Regions from separate parts of the Homo sapiens genome. Here region 1 is linked to region 2. Evidence: promoter capture Hi-C in human tissues and cell types (Jung and others, 2019). All regions are on one chromosome and are shown on one strand. The core of a region is centred on a gene start or on the middle of the fragment in contact, and the rest is flanking DNA. Distances in the headings are between cores, read along the strand shown. Region 1 overlaps PTPRO (protein tyrosine phosphatase receptor type O). Region 2 holds the start of PTPRO (protein tyrosine phosphatase receptor type O).

What was found. Contacts are between HindIII fragments. The study calls those that stand out against the background at their distance.
Region 1: a fragment that was not itself captured here is called in contact with the fragment with the promoter of PTPRO in region 2 in 2 of the 25 tissues and cell types used here (hippocampus and mesendoderm cells).

Annotation. Positions count from the first base shown.
Region 1 is chr12:15,416,650-15,422,984 of GRCh38, reverse strand. All of the region lies in intron 1 of PTPRO (protein tyrosine phosphatase receptor type O), which reads right to left. Among named protein-coding and RNA genes, the nearest start is that of PTPRO, 97 kb to the right of the region's middle. The HindIII fragment of the contact is 4,296 bases long and covers 902-5,197 here.
Region 2 is chr12:15,318,218-15,324,138 of GRCh38, reverse strand. It overlaps PTPRO (protein tyrosine phosphatase receptor type O), which reads right to left and starts at 1,631. Exons shown (of 27, transcript NM_030667.3): 1 at 1,338-1,631. The coding sequence starts at 1,412. The region is part of intron 2 of LOC105369673 (a long non-coding RNA gene); the gene reads left to right. The HindIII fragment of the contact is 7,625 bases long and covers 1-3,360 here.

The DNA.
Region 1 (6,335 bases), core at 1,800-4,299, 97 kb before region 2:
AACTTTTTAAAATTTAGGGAGAGAGGATGTACAATGGAATACATACATAGAAATTGATAGATGTGACAATCTCATTATTATCTGGAGGAGAAATGGTCTTTGGTTTATGTGACATGGGTCTCACATCTTTAATCCATTTCTTCTGCTAAAGTACTCAGTGCTTTGTGCTTCCTTTGATAAATCACTAAATATTTACCCTTTTCAAAATATTTAATATCTTATTGCCCAGCTTCTTTATTATAGCAAACATTTCCTAAATATGCAAAGGACATTGGAATTAGCCACTAATAAGATGAGCCTGAAAACCTGGGCTCACGTTTCTACATGGTCGCTTTGTAGCATGTGGTTTATACAAGTCCCCTATCTATCTAAACCCTAATTTCCTCTGTGAAAAATGAGAACCCTACTATCTGGAGGAATAGAAAAAATGTATTTTGTCCGAACTTTATCCCGTGGCCTTTTCTAACATCAAAACTGCCAAATAATTGGCAGTTATTGGGTTCTACCTACTATATAAAACATTAGGCCCAAAGTTGGCACTCAATTATGGAGAATTTTTATAACTCTTTTTCCAAGTTTTTGTGATTTTATTAATCATAAAGTCATTTTTGTACCAAGCCATCATTTTAATATTTATGTAGTGGTTACCATGTGTAAGCTCTTACAATTGCCTCAAATGCCCTGAAACAATTAGTAAAAACAAACAAACAAAAAACAAGAAAACCTGGTTAAAACCCTTTCGTACAATTATGATGTCTTCTTTCCCTTTGCAATCACATTTGGCAGAGGTAAGAATGAATTACAGTCAAAAAATTGTAAATCTTAAATCCTCAGTTTAGCAAAATCCAATCCTACTCCCTGGGGCAAGTTATTTTGGAATTGCTGCAAAGTTTCATTTAGCAATTCCATGGCAGAGGAAGTATCTTCAATGAAATCATTCTTTTTTTTTTCTTTAAATGGGCGAGCTTCATATTTGTTTTATTTCATTGTTCTCTTATAACTAGATAATAAATAAAATTTTAAAAATTCTTTTCATGTATCAGGTATTGTTCTAAGCATGTCATGCCTATGAGATAGGTGCTAATCCTGTCACACTTTAAAAATGAAGAACTGAAGCAGAGAAAGCAAGTAACTTGCCCAAGATCACACAGCTAGTTAAAGCCACTCCAGAATTTAACAATATGATGTTTAAACTTTGCAAACTCTTCTGCTTCACACTAGGTGTCACAGGGCTTTAAAAATAAGGTTCCTTTAATAATGGTAAATGATATCATAAATTATTGGAAATGAGAAATAGACACAGACTCCAAAATAAACAATCTGATACCATTGTGATACAGAATAATACACTCTTTTATTTTTGCTTTCTTCTTCTCTACCTGACCAGTCAATGAAGTAAAAACCTGCTGGCAAATTAAACTTGGCTATGCATAGGTTTCTGAGACACCTCTCTAGGATCACAGCATTTGGTACTTACTGCTTATTCAGGCACTAGTTGTACTATGCCTATTCTAAGGTCAACATTTGTTTAATGTCTTATTTTGTTATGTGAGCCCTTCCTATTCCCTCTCTCCTTAACTCTCTCCCTTCTCTCTTTTTTACTTCCCTCTCTCTCTTTAAAAAGTACATTTATTGCACTACTACCGTGTTCTAGCCAGTGAATTACAGCTTAAATGAATTAAATATCACAACCACTGGTTTCAAGGATTTACAGCCCAGAAGGAAAGATAGGAAAATAAGTAAGTTAAATGAAATATCCTATTTAGACGTATTTGCAAGATAGGGATGTAAAAGGAACTGTGGTTCTATGTAGAAAGTCATCATTGTTTAGAGAAGCATTTAAAGGGAAACTGATGATAATGTCTGGAATTTGCTTTAAAATACTACATTAATGAAAAATAGACCAAAGAGAAATAGATAAATAAACAATAATGGCAAAATTTGATAATTGCTAAAGCTGGGTGTTCAGTATATGCATACCACTGTCTCTAATTTTGCATATATTTGAAATTTTTTATTAAAGTGTTTAAAAAGTACATCATCAGCAGCAGCACAGTTAACATTTATTGCATACTTAGTATGTGGTAGACACTAAGTGCTTTTTCTGTGCTAACTCATTCAACTCTTACAAACGCCCCGTGAGGTAGAAACTATTATTGTACCCATTTTGCAGGTAAGAAAACTGACCCAGAAGGGAGGGCCCATTAACTTGACAAATTCACAGAACAATAAGTACTGAAAGATAGGCAGTATGATGTCAAGTTTTACTCATTTAGCCACCATGTTATATTGTCTCTCCAGTGTAGTTATAATAACATGTGATATAATGATAGTTATTTACTACTGTCAGACATGGTGCTAAATAATTTACATATAGTATTTCGTCTAATCACTGCAAAAATAAGAGGACTTAAGCTTAAGGGGCCATTCAATGGTGGCATGAGTTGGTCAGGAAATGTGGTAAGACGGGAAGGAACAGGTGCCTGAGTTGAGTTTCCACAATTGGAATGGCTGTGTTTCAGGGTGAAAAAGGTGTGGTCTCATTCCAGGCAGTGGGAGAATCTTGGTAAAATGCACGCAGGTGAGATGCATTCAGACACTGGCGGTAGCAATGGTGGAGGATTAGGTATGAAGTGGCTGGCATGAGAGTGGAACCAGATTGAATAAGCAGGCAGAACCTGGATTTGGAAGTTCTCATGACATGCTAAGGAATTAGGGCTCTGCCCCATAAGTTATGAAAGAGGCAGTAGCAGACTTAAATTTTAAAAAGGCACCCAGGGAATCCTGAAGAGTACAATTCAGAGGGGACACTCTTTTTTTTTTTTTTTTTTTTTTTCTGAGTCGGAGTCTCGCTCTTTCGCCCAGGCTAGAGTGCAGTGGTGCGATCTCCGCTCACTGCAAGCTCCGCCTCCCGGTTTCACACCGTTCTCCTGCCTCAGCCTCCCGAGTAGCTGGGACTATGGGCGCCCGCCACCGCGCCCAGCTAATTTTTTGTATTTTTAGTAGAGACGGGGTTTCACCGTGTCAGCCACGATTGTCTCGATCTCCTGACCTCGTGATCCACCCACCTCAGCCTCCCAAAGTGCTGGGATTACAGGCGTGAGCCACTGCACCCGGCCCAGAGGGGACACTCTTATATGCAACTAATTCAATTGGTTTGTTGAATGGATGTTTTGAATGTACATCTAGTAATCTCGACAAATTCTGTCTAATGTTGGATTACCTCTATTTTCTCTGGGAAAAAAAAAACACCAAAGAACTAGCTTTGACGTATTCTTCTGCTGTATCTCGTGTACACAGTGCCTACTGAAATGTTATGCTCTCGAAGGGCATCAACAAGTAAATGCGGTGCATAAATTAATTTTCTTGCTGTAGTCTGTTTATTAATTAGAAGAAAAGTTCCCTGTAGGTCAGACTTGGAGGACATCATTATCTTGTGGCCTGGATGGCTTGAAATTCACCTGAACTGTTAGAAAACATGATTTTGTTTTAACTTCAGTTAAGTATTTAGCTATACTTCTTATGCGTAATGAAATTTTTTTCCCAAGAACCTTGGAAAAGAAGGGAAGCAATCTGAATTGCTTCATCTTCTGGCTTGCACTCTTTTCTGACAGTTTATAGATGTTATTTCTAATGGGCAGCTTTTCTGTTACACTGACCTTTCTCCAAAACTCCTGAGTCTGAAAAATTAGATCACATCAATTAGCCCCCCTCCCCCGCCCCCAAAATGCTCCTATCGTTACTGGAGCATCTTAAAAAGGATAAATGGACTTGTCGGCACAAATGCAGGAAAAGGTGGCTTATTTCAATAAGCGCATGAATATCTGCTAAAATTTGTAGCTGATTTGTGCCTATTCACTGTATGCTTCGAGTTCACCTTTGTTCTTTCCAAATCGCACCTATTTTTATCTTCTGTGTACTGTAACTTGAAAGACTGATCTAGCATTTAATATGCGTTAGTAATGCTCTAAATTTTACATTGTAGAAAATGTGTCATCTGTATGTGAAATCTTACTCTTGAAGCTTTAAAAAAGTGTCACAATTTTTCTACTTTTATTTAAATGTTTAATTTTTATGTGTGTAGAGGAAACAGGCAAGGAAGGACTTTAGTATTGCTTTTGTTATGAATATCATTTAATAAAAGAGGCAAGTTTGGAAGCACATTAGGCTTAGGGGAAAAAAAAGATGTTAAAGTAAGAATCTGGTCCATCCATAATTCTTAACACTTCCTCCCAGTACTCCATTGCCTCAGCCTTTGGCTGACGTATGGCACACTCATTCCTTGAAATGCCATATGTATTCCTACCTCCTACATTCTGTGCATTCCACAAAATTCCATGTTCTCCTTGCCAGGAATCCCCTTTTCTCTATGATGCTGATGTGGGTCCCATTTTTCCTTCAAATTCTAGATTAATGTTCATTTTCCTCATAAAACCTTCCTTGTCTTTTCTAGTTCTTGTGTGATTGTTCTCTTCTGCTGAAGCCTCTTTAGGTAAAATCAACAGTATCTATACCTCAGGAGCTTTAGAAATCCAAGCCAGAAGAAACAACTACAACAACAGGTAAACAATGAGAGTTGAGCTAGGCACTTCATTCACTCAACAGACACTGAAGGCCATCTCTGTGCCAGGTACTGGGAATCTAGCTGTGAACCCCAGAGAAATTATGGAGTTAACAAAGCAGTTAATCTATAGCCATAATTAATTTGTGCTCTAATATGTAGGGCCTGTTGTGATTAACCACATTCACACTGCAGCAAGTAGAGCAGCCTTCTGCATTTAATCACTTTGCCTGTGCTATTCAAAGTTCTTGTCCACAAGGAGGTAACAAGCTATGCTTGAGTAGAAATCAACATGCTACTTCCTTCATTGAAAAAGTTTTACTAAGAAAAAAATAGCAGCTGAAATTAAGAGTGTGCCTAGTGATGTAGGTGATTTACATTTTGGCACAAGCTTCTTATGTCATCATGCATATTCTACCAAAGTTGCTATATTATGACAGACAAGTAACAAACAATTTGCAGATGGGTAGCCAGTTTTCTGACTTCACTTAGTATTACATTGCTTTAGGCCACACTCCCAGCACTGTTGAGAGATATCATCTGTAAAGACTCAGATGACAAAGGCTCTAATTTGAGTGCATGCATAAAGGAAGACTAAATCCTAGTATTAAAGGCCCTGGCGAATCTCAGTTCAGGGTAGACACAAAGGAAAATTTAGGACAGACCAACACTGAGATCATTCCTTTAGTCACACTGGTTAAGCCGTGCCGTCAGTTCTTTTCTAAGAAGGAACTGGAGTGTGATCAATACTTAATGCGTACTCATTAGAGTAGCTTCTTAAACATAATGCGTGTACTGATTTTCTTGGGGACCTTGTTAAAAATGCAGATTCTGATTTAGTAAGTCTGGGGTGGGCCCCAGTTTCTACATTTCTAGTAAGCTTCTAGGTGATTTCAATGCTGATGGTCGAGGAGTCACACTGAGAAGCAAGGTTTTGTTAAATTTGATTCAATCATTCTCAATATACTCTTTTGCTATTTTCATAAAGACATGAATTAAAGACCATCTATCCAATTATTGTTTTCAAGCTGTTTGTGTTCAGAGTTATTAAAAGTTCACAAGTAGTATGTGTGGTATTCACTTTTATTTGTCTTGATACCTTATACAGACGGTTCCTGACTTACAATGGTTCTACTTATGCTTTTGTGACTTTATGATGGGCTTATCAGGGTATTAAATGTATTTTTTGACTTATGATGGGTTTATCAGGCTGTATGTCCATTATAAGCTGAGTAGCGTCTGTATTTGCACAGGTAGTATTGTTTTTTAACCATGTGCCGGGCACCTTTGCATGTAGTTGGACTGTGTAGGAGTAAAGGAGAGGATCATTCCTAGGAAGTTGTTTAGATAGTTCCACGAATCATGGGAGGGTAGAATCCTCTCAGGAAGGCACAAATAATGTCATGTGAATAATACTAAGATAATCTATCAATTACATCTAATCAATATGATTGTGTATAGACCGAACCTTAATGTAAAACTTATATCCAGGCACTTTTCCACTTCTCCCCATACAGTATATTGATTTTCTATTATTACTATTTGTCTCTGGCCAACCACTGACACAAAGGCATATTCATAAGGGTAATGAAGGGAAGGCCTGGGATCCCAAGTGTAGTTGTTTATAGCTTAGAGAAAAAAAACTGCACAACTTCACTTAGAGAAAGAGAGGAGCATGTTGGTGGGGAAAAAAAAAAAAAAAGAAGGAAGTGGCAAAACCACTGATAGGATACAAGAAACTGCTCAGTTCTTAACAGAGGGCTGTCAGTAAAGA
Region 2 (5,921 bases), core at 382-2,881:
AACCTAATAAGTCTAATGCATTTATGATGTGTATGAAAGAACAACCTCCTACAGTAAAAACATATAACTGAGCTTATTATTTACCATACTTTAAAATTAATGATTATTGATAATTTAAGAAAAAATGTTAAAACATATTAAATATATTTTAAGGTCTTACTTAGGCATTCTGTTGCTGTTTCTCCCTGAATTTTTTTTATATTTTTCATTAAGATAAATGAAAATATGGAGTATTTAAAAGTAATGCTGTTCTTAATCCATTGGTCCTGTTCCATTATATTCTTTTTAGGCATTCATAATTAATGGTGCATATAAGCAAGAAGTGACTCTATAATAAGAAAACCTTTGGATCCATTAACCTGGCATCCATTTCTAGGGAAGGTATCACTGTGGTCCTGAAAGGATAGCTCCAAGTCACCTGTCGACATTCTTGAGTTTGCTTTGCGGAGAGAGGAAAAGACTAACAACAGAACTAAAGTAGATCCACTGAAGACATGAGTGATAGACAATCACTTCAGAACTTCACATCGCCGTCCAAGAAAACATCTAGCTGACATTTCTTCAAAAAAATTTATGTACAGTATAGTTGTCAAACTGATTTTTCAAAAGCAACTCCTTTGCTTTTCATTTTTCTCAAAGTAAAACCTCAGGGTAGCACATTCCAAAGAAGATACGAAAAAGTTTATTATTATATATTTTTCCACCATTAAATCTAGGGGTAATATCATCTGTAAATATAGTGGAGAAAGTCTGGAGACTTTTTAAAAGGAATTGTAAAGATGTTGATAGGAGTTGGGGAGAGGAATCCTTACCAAGCTCTCTACCTGACACTCCTTATTCAAAGAAAATTCTGCCCTAACGTAGCCCTGGCAGTCCATTTGTGTCCAGGGAGCTCAGTCCCCCTCCACTCTCCAGTGTATAATTCCAGCAGTAAGGAAAATTAAGACAAAGCATTCTGTGCGAGGGAGGGCGGAAAGGTTAAGCAGCGTTGGGGTGCAGTGGAAACCAGAAAAGAAAGTGACCTCATTTTGCCTGAGAAAGCACGATCCAACAAGCCCACCTTTGATGTGGATTTCAGCAGCGATAAAAGAGCACAAAGGGCGAAAGCCGGAGGGAGCAAACTTCCCTTATTCTTCCCCCCGCCCCCTACCTCTCAAGACCACCAGGAACACGCACACGCGAGGACAACAAAGCGTGCGCCCAGGCTGCACGGCAGGCGCTTCCCGCGGCTGGGCCATCGTGCCCTGGGGCGCGCCGCTCCCAACGGCAGAGCGAGGGCGCCGGAGCGCGGCTGCCGCCCGGACCGCTGGGAAAAAGGGGTGGAGGAGCTCCCCTACCTTGAACAGCACAAAGAGCCAGAGCAGAGGCAGGAGGCGGCGGGCGCCGTGTATCCCCGTGGGCAGGTGCCCCATCGCTGCGCGGACGGGGACTCGGGGGCACGGCTGCGCTAGCGGACTCCCCCGGCGGCGGCTCACAATGGCGAACTGGGGCTGCAGCCTCAGACCCTGGGCGCCGAGGTTGCTCCTGGCGAGCGCATGCTGCCTTTCCAGTCCCCCTGCGCCTGCTCCCTTTCCTCCTCTGCGCCCGGGGTCCTCCAAGAACGTGCCAGGCGCTGCTGTTCTTTAATGACTAAGGATGGAGAGGGTGGGGATTGGAGTGGGCGAGGCTCTGCCGCCGCCACCACCGCGGCTGCCAGAGGAGGCGCGGGGTCTGTGTGGTGAGCGAGAGGCGGGGACCCCGCGCCCAGCCCGCCGTAGTCCTCTGGCAGCAGGGACACTCTCACTCTGGCTGCCGACCCATAAAATGACAGCAGCCTCCCAACCCTCCACCAGGATCGGCCCGCTGCTTGCTACTGCTGGACAGCCCCCATTGCAGACTCCGCCTCAACCCCTCCCTCAATCTCTGGGTCTCAGGAGTTCTGAGGGGTTTCCCTGACCTCTCTTGAGCAATCCAGGCGCCAGATCCCAGTTCCCTCTCAATCTTCCTACATCTGTACTCAATTGCAGTTATAAAGGATCAATAACAGTTGGGTAGTTGTGACTGTAGAAATAGTGTGTAGTGTGAGTGTGTGAGTGTGTGTGATAGGAAGGGTATTTTCTCTCCTTCCCCACTGCTTCCATTATCTCCATCCCATTTCAACACTCTCACCGTCTCCGTCCCACACTCACCCAGGAACAAATAGCACAATTATGCACCTTTTCCATTTGAAATCCGCAGTTCTTGTACATTTCAGATTCTCTTTTGATACCAAAGTGTGTCGGGTCACCTGAAGCTGAATATAGAAGGGGGAAAAATCACAGTATTTTACATGTATGACCCTTGAACAACACGGGTTTGAACTGTTGGGTCCAGTTATATGCAGATTTTCTTCCACCTTTGCCAGCCTTGAGACAGCAAGACCAAACCCTCTTCCTCCTCCTCTGCCTGCTCAGCCTGAAAAGGATGACGTTAAAGACTTTTATGATAATTCACTTCCACTCAATGAATATAAATGTATTTTCTCCTCTTTATGGTTTTCTTAATAATATTTTCTGTTCTCTAGCGTACTTTATTGTAAGAATACAGTATACAATACATACAACACAAAATGTGTGTTAATCAACTGTTTATTATGTTATCAGTAAGGTTTCCGGTCAAGAGTAGGCTATTAGTAGTTAAGGTTTTGATGAGTTCAAAGTTATATGTGGATTTTCAACTACGTGATTCTCTGTGTTGTCCAAGTGTCAACGGTATGTACAGTTATATTTTTAAACAATTATCTGTGAATAATTTTACTGGGATGTTTTAGAATCACAAGCAACGACTTTCAAGCTGTGGGTCCCCAATCTACTACTTGTCTCCTTTTTTGTTATGTGTATTTTTTTAAAGATAAGTCTGTCGAAATCAACTCTGGTATGCACTGTTCAGATAGAAATCATTTCTTATTGTCATGTAAATTACCCTTGCTGTGCCCTGTCAGTATTGGAACTTATTTATACCTGAGACATGCTTGGGCAACAGGAGACAGGAAAGGCCACCCTGGTCATGAATGTAGGTGTTCAGGCATAGACTTTGTCAGTCACACAGCTAGGGAGTGGTGGCCTGAGAAAAGGATCCAGAGCTGTGTTTACTCAGCTTTTGCTGCATGAGCAATGGCCAAACACTAATCATTTGGTTGTTGTTTGTATGTGTCTTAAGGAAGCTTTAGATTGAATATGTTTACATAAGTGTGAATATGTATATATACACATGTGTACATGTACACATATGTGTACATGTACATATGTGTACACACATGTGTGTGCATGTACATATGTGTACACATATGTGTGTGCATGTACATATGTGTGTACACATATGTGTATGTGTGTACATAGATACATATGTGTATGCATACGTATATGTATATGTACGCATATGTATATGCATGGTACATATATGTATATATGTACCAAATTTCATATGCATGAAATATGTACCAAAATTCATATGCATGAAAATATAGAATGATGGTCTGAATTTTTGTGAGAATATTATCCTTGGTGTCTTCTTTTAGAAGCTTCTTTTGTTTTCACATTCCCATCACATGCTCTCTTCAGGTCCCTCATGTCCACTCATCATTGGTTTGGACATTTTCTTTCTTTTGAGAAAATGTTAACTGCTCCTCCCTCCCTCTGGGTTAGACTTACGGGCTATCTGAACATTTAATCCTTGGGATTGCACTTATAGGAACTTTGGTTTAATATGTTTTCTTTTTATTTTGACGCTCCTGAAGCAGCATTTTATTCCCACTCGCCCTCAGAAGTGGCTGTAAAGTGATCTAATCTCTAGAACATAAGATATATATAGGCCAAGGGCAACAATCACACTCACAGGATGCCAACAATTTCTCTTTGGAGTAGCATTTAATTTTAAAATGTGTCTGTGAATTATGGGTCTGTATGATGATATTCATTTGTGTGTATGCATATGTCTGTGTGTATACATGGATATAGCCTTGCCTGATGTGCGTAGGGCGTTTAAAGCAGTTCTGATCATAAATTAATCTTGTAAATGCTAAAAGAACTTTCACAATGAGGCTCCCTTTTAAATAATCATATTCTGCTGCGTCTTTCTGTTTTTCTCTTAGTCATACATCACAATTTGTTCAGCTCTTTCTGTCTTTGTGCATATATATATATATGTATATATATATATATATATATATATATTATGTGGACCACTTTGGAGGAACAATAACAGTAAACAGTAAGTAGTAAAGCATTAGTAATTGGCATTGTTGTTATTTTATTAGTAACATTGTGGTTAGATGGGCTGAAGACTGAAAGTATTATTTTATAATCACAGAAAATTTCCTCTCTAGAGAAAAGTATTTTACATTGCTATTGCTGGATAAAATACTTTCATTTGTTTTTATTGCACTTAAACCATAACAGTGTCCTAGAAGAGATTCTCATAAAGAATGTGAATGCTGTGTCATCCACAGTGTGGGGTTTTCAATTCATAGAGCATGTTTTGTGTTTCTTTGAGCTATTGACTGGTTTTTCAATACAATACTTCCAAAGTATGATAAATCTTATTATGCTATTTTCAAGACTCCAAATCAACAAAACAGCCAGGGGCAACATACAGTGCATATAGTAATTTATGTTTCACCAATTGCTTCTACATATTGGTCCAGATTTCATTATGACAACCACATTGTTAGGTAAAGAAGGCTGAGATCATTATCACCAACTGTTTTCCCCTAATGCTACTTTTCCTGGAGAAAAAATAAACACAGAAAAATAATAATATCTCTGACATGCCATAAAACAAGCATTGAAAAATAAGTTCTCACAAATTGAAATAAAGCTCTCTACTTCCTTTGAAAATTATAAAAAGGTGGTTAATGATCATGAAACTGGAAGGTCTTTTTAAAATCTATAGGAGGCTTAGTTTTTACCAAGAAAAGCGATCTTTTCCTAAATATGTAGAAATGTATCTTTGCCTACGTGGTTCACATCTATCTCTTCTATAGAAAAGCAAGCGCAGACACAGAGAAGCAGCTAGAATCCCTGTGAGAGGTTTAATGAGGAGTCAAATGGAACTCTTACGGTGCCCTTGCCAATGAAGCTCAATTCTGTCCTCCAGGGACAACCTCTAATGTAGTTGAGTGTGTTTAGTCCTGGCTTCCACTACTGAAATAGCCTACAAGGCTGTCAGCAGTTTCAGTATTAGATAATTGTATTTATGGGGGATGCTCAATGACAAATAATTTACTTTATATGGAATAGAAAGAAAAATTCAAGCAATTGTTCTCTAGACTCTATTCCATTGGAAAAGTAATAGCCATTCAGTTTGTTGTCCATATCTCACATGTTACAATTTTTATAGCATATGAACTGTAGATTATCTGTATTAAGCTCTTGGAAGAAAATGACCAGGAAGCATTTTGATTTTCTATTTATTTGAGCATTTGTTTTAATTTTTTCTCTTGATGAGCACTGGTTTCTCACCTAAATGATGTGTTGACAATTCATAAGTTTTGTGTCTTTCAAAATGAGAACGATTGACAGCCCTCAGGTGAATGGCATGTTCCAACTGCCAAGACTTATTACTCTTGCTGCACTTGAAAAACAGTGGAAATACGCTAAAGAAGGTCATTTTTGCTTTTACTTGGAGAGTCTTTTCCCATTATATTCCCCTCTCCCGCCGCAAAAGATTCCTATTAAGAGACCTATCTTACTTGTACTTGACTCTTACATGTCTTAAAGAAAATCAAATAAGAATATTGCATTACAAGATATGTCTTACAACACAAAATTATATACTTAAAGAAATAAGGAAACATACATAGAAAGTGTGAGCAGATATGCAGATATATATCACTGGACACAAATTACAGGCTATAGGATAAACAGCCCTACATTAGAAATGCAGATTGTCGTGTTTTTAGATAT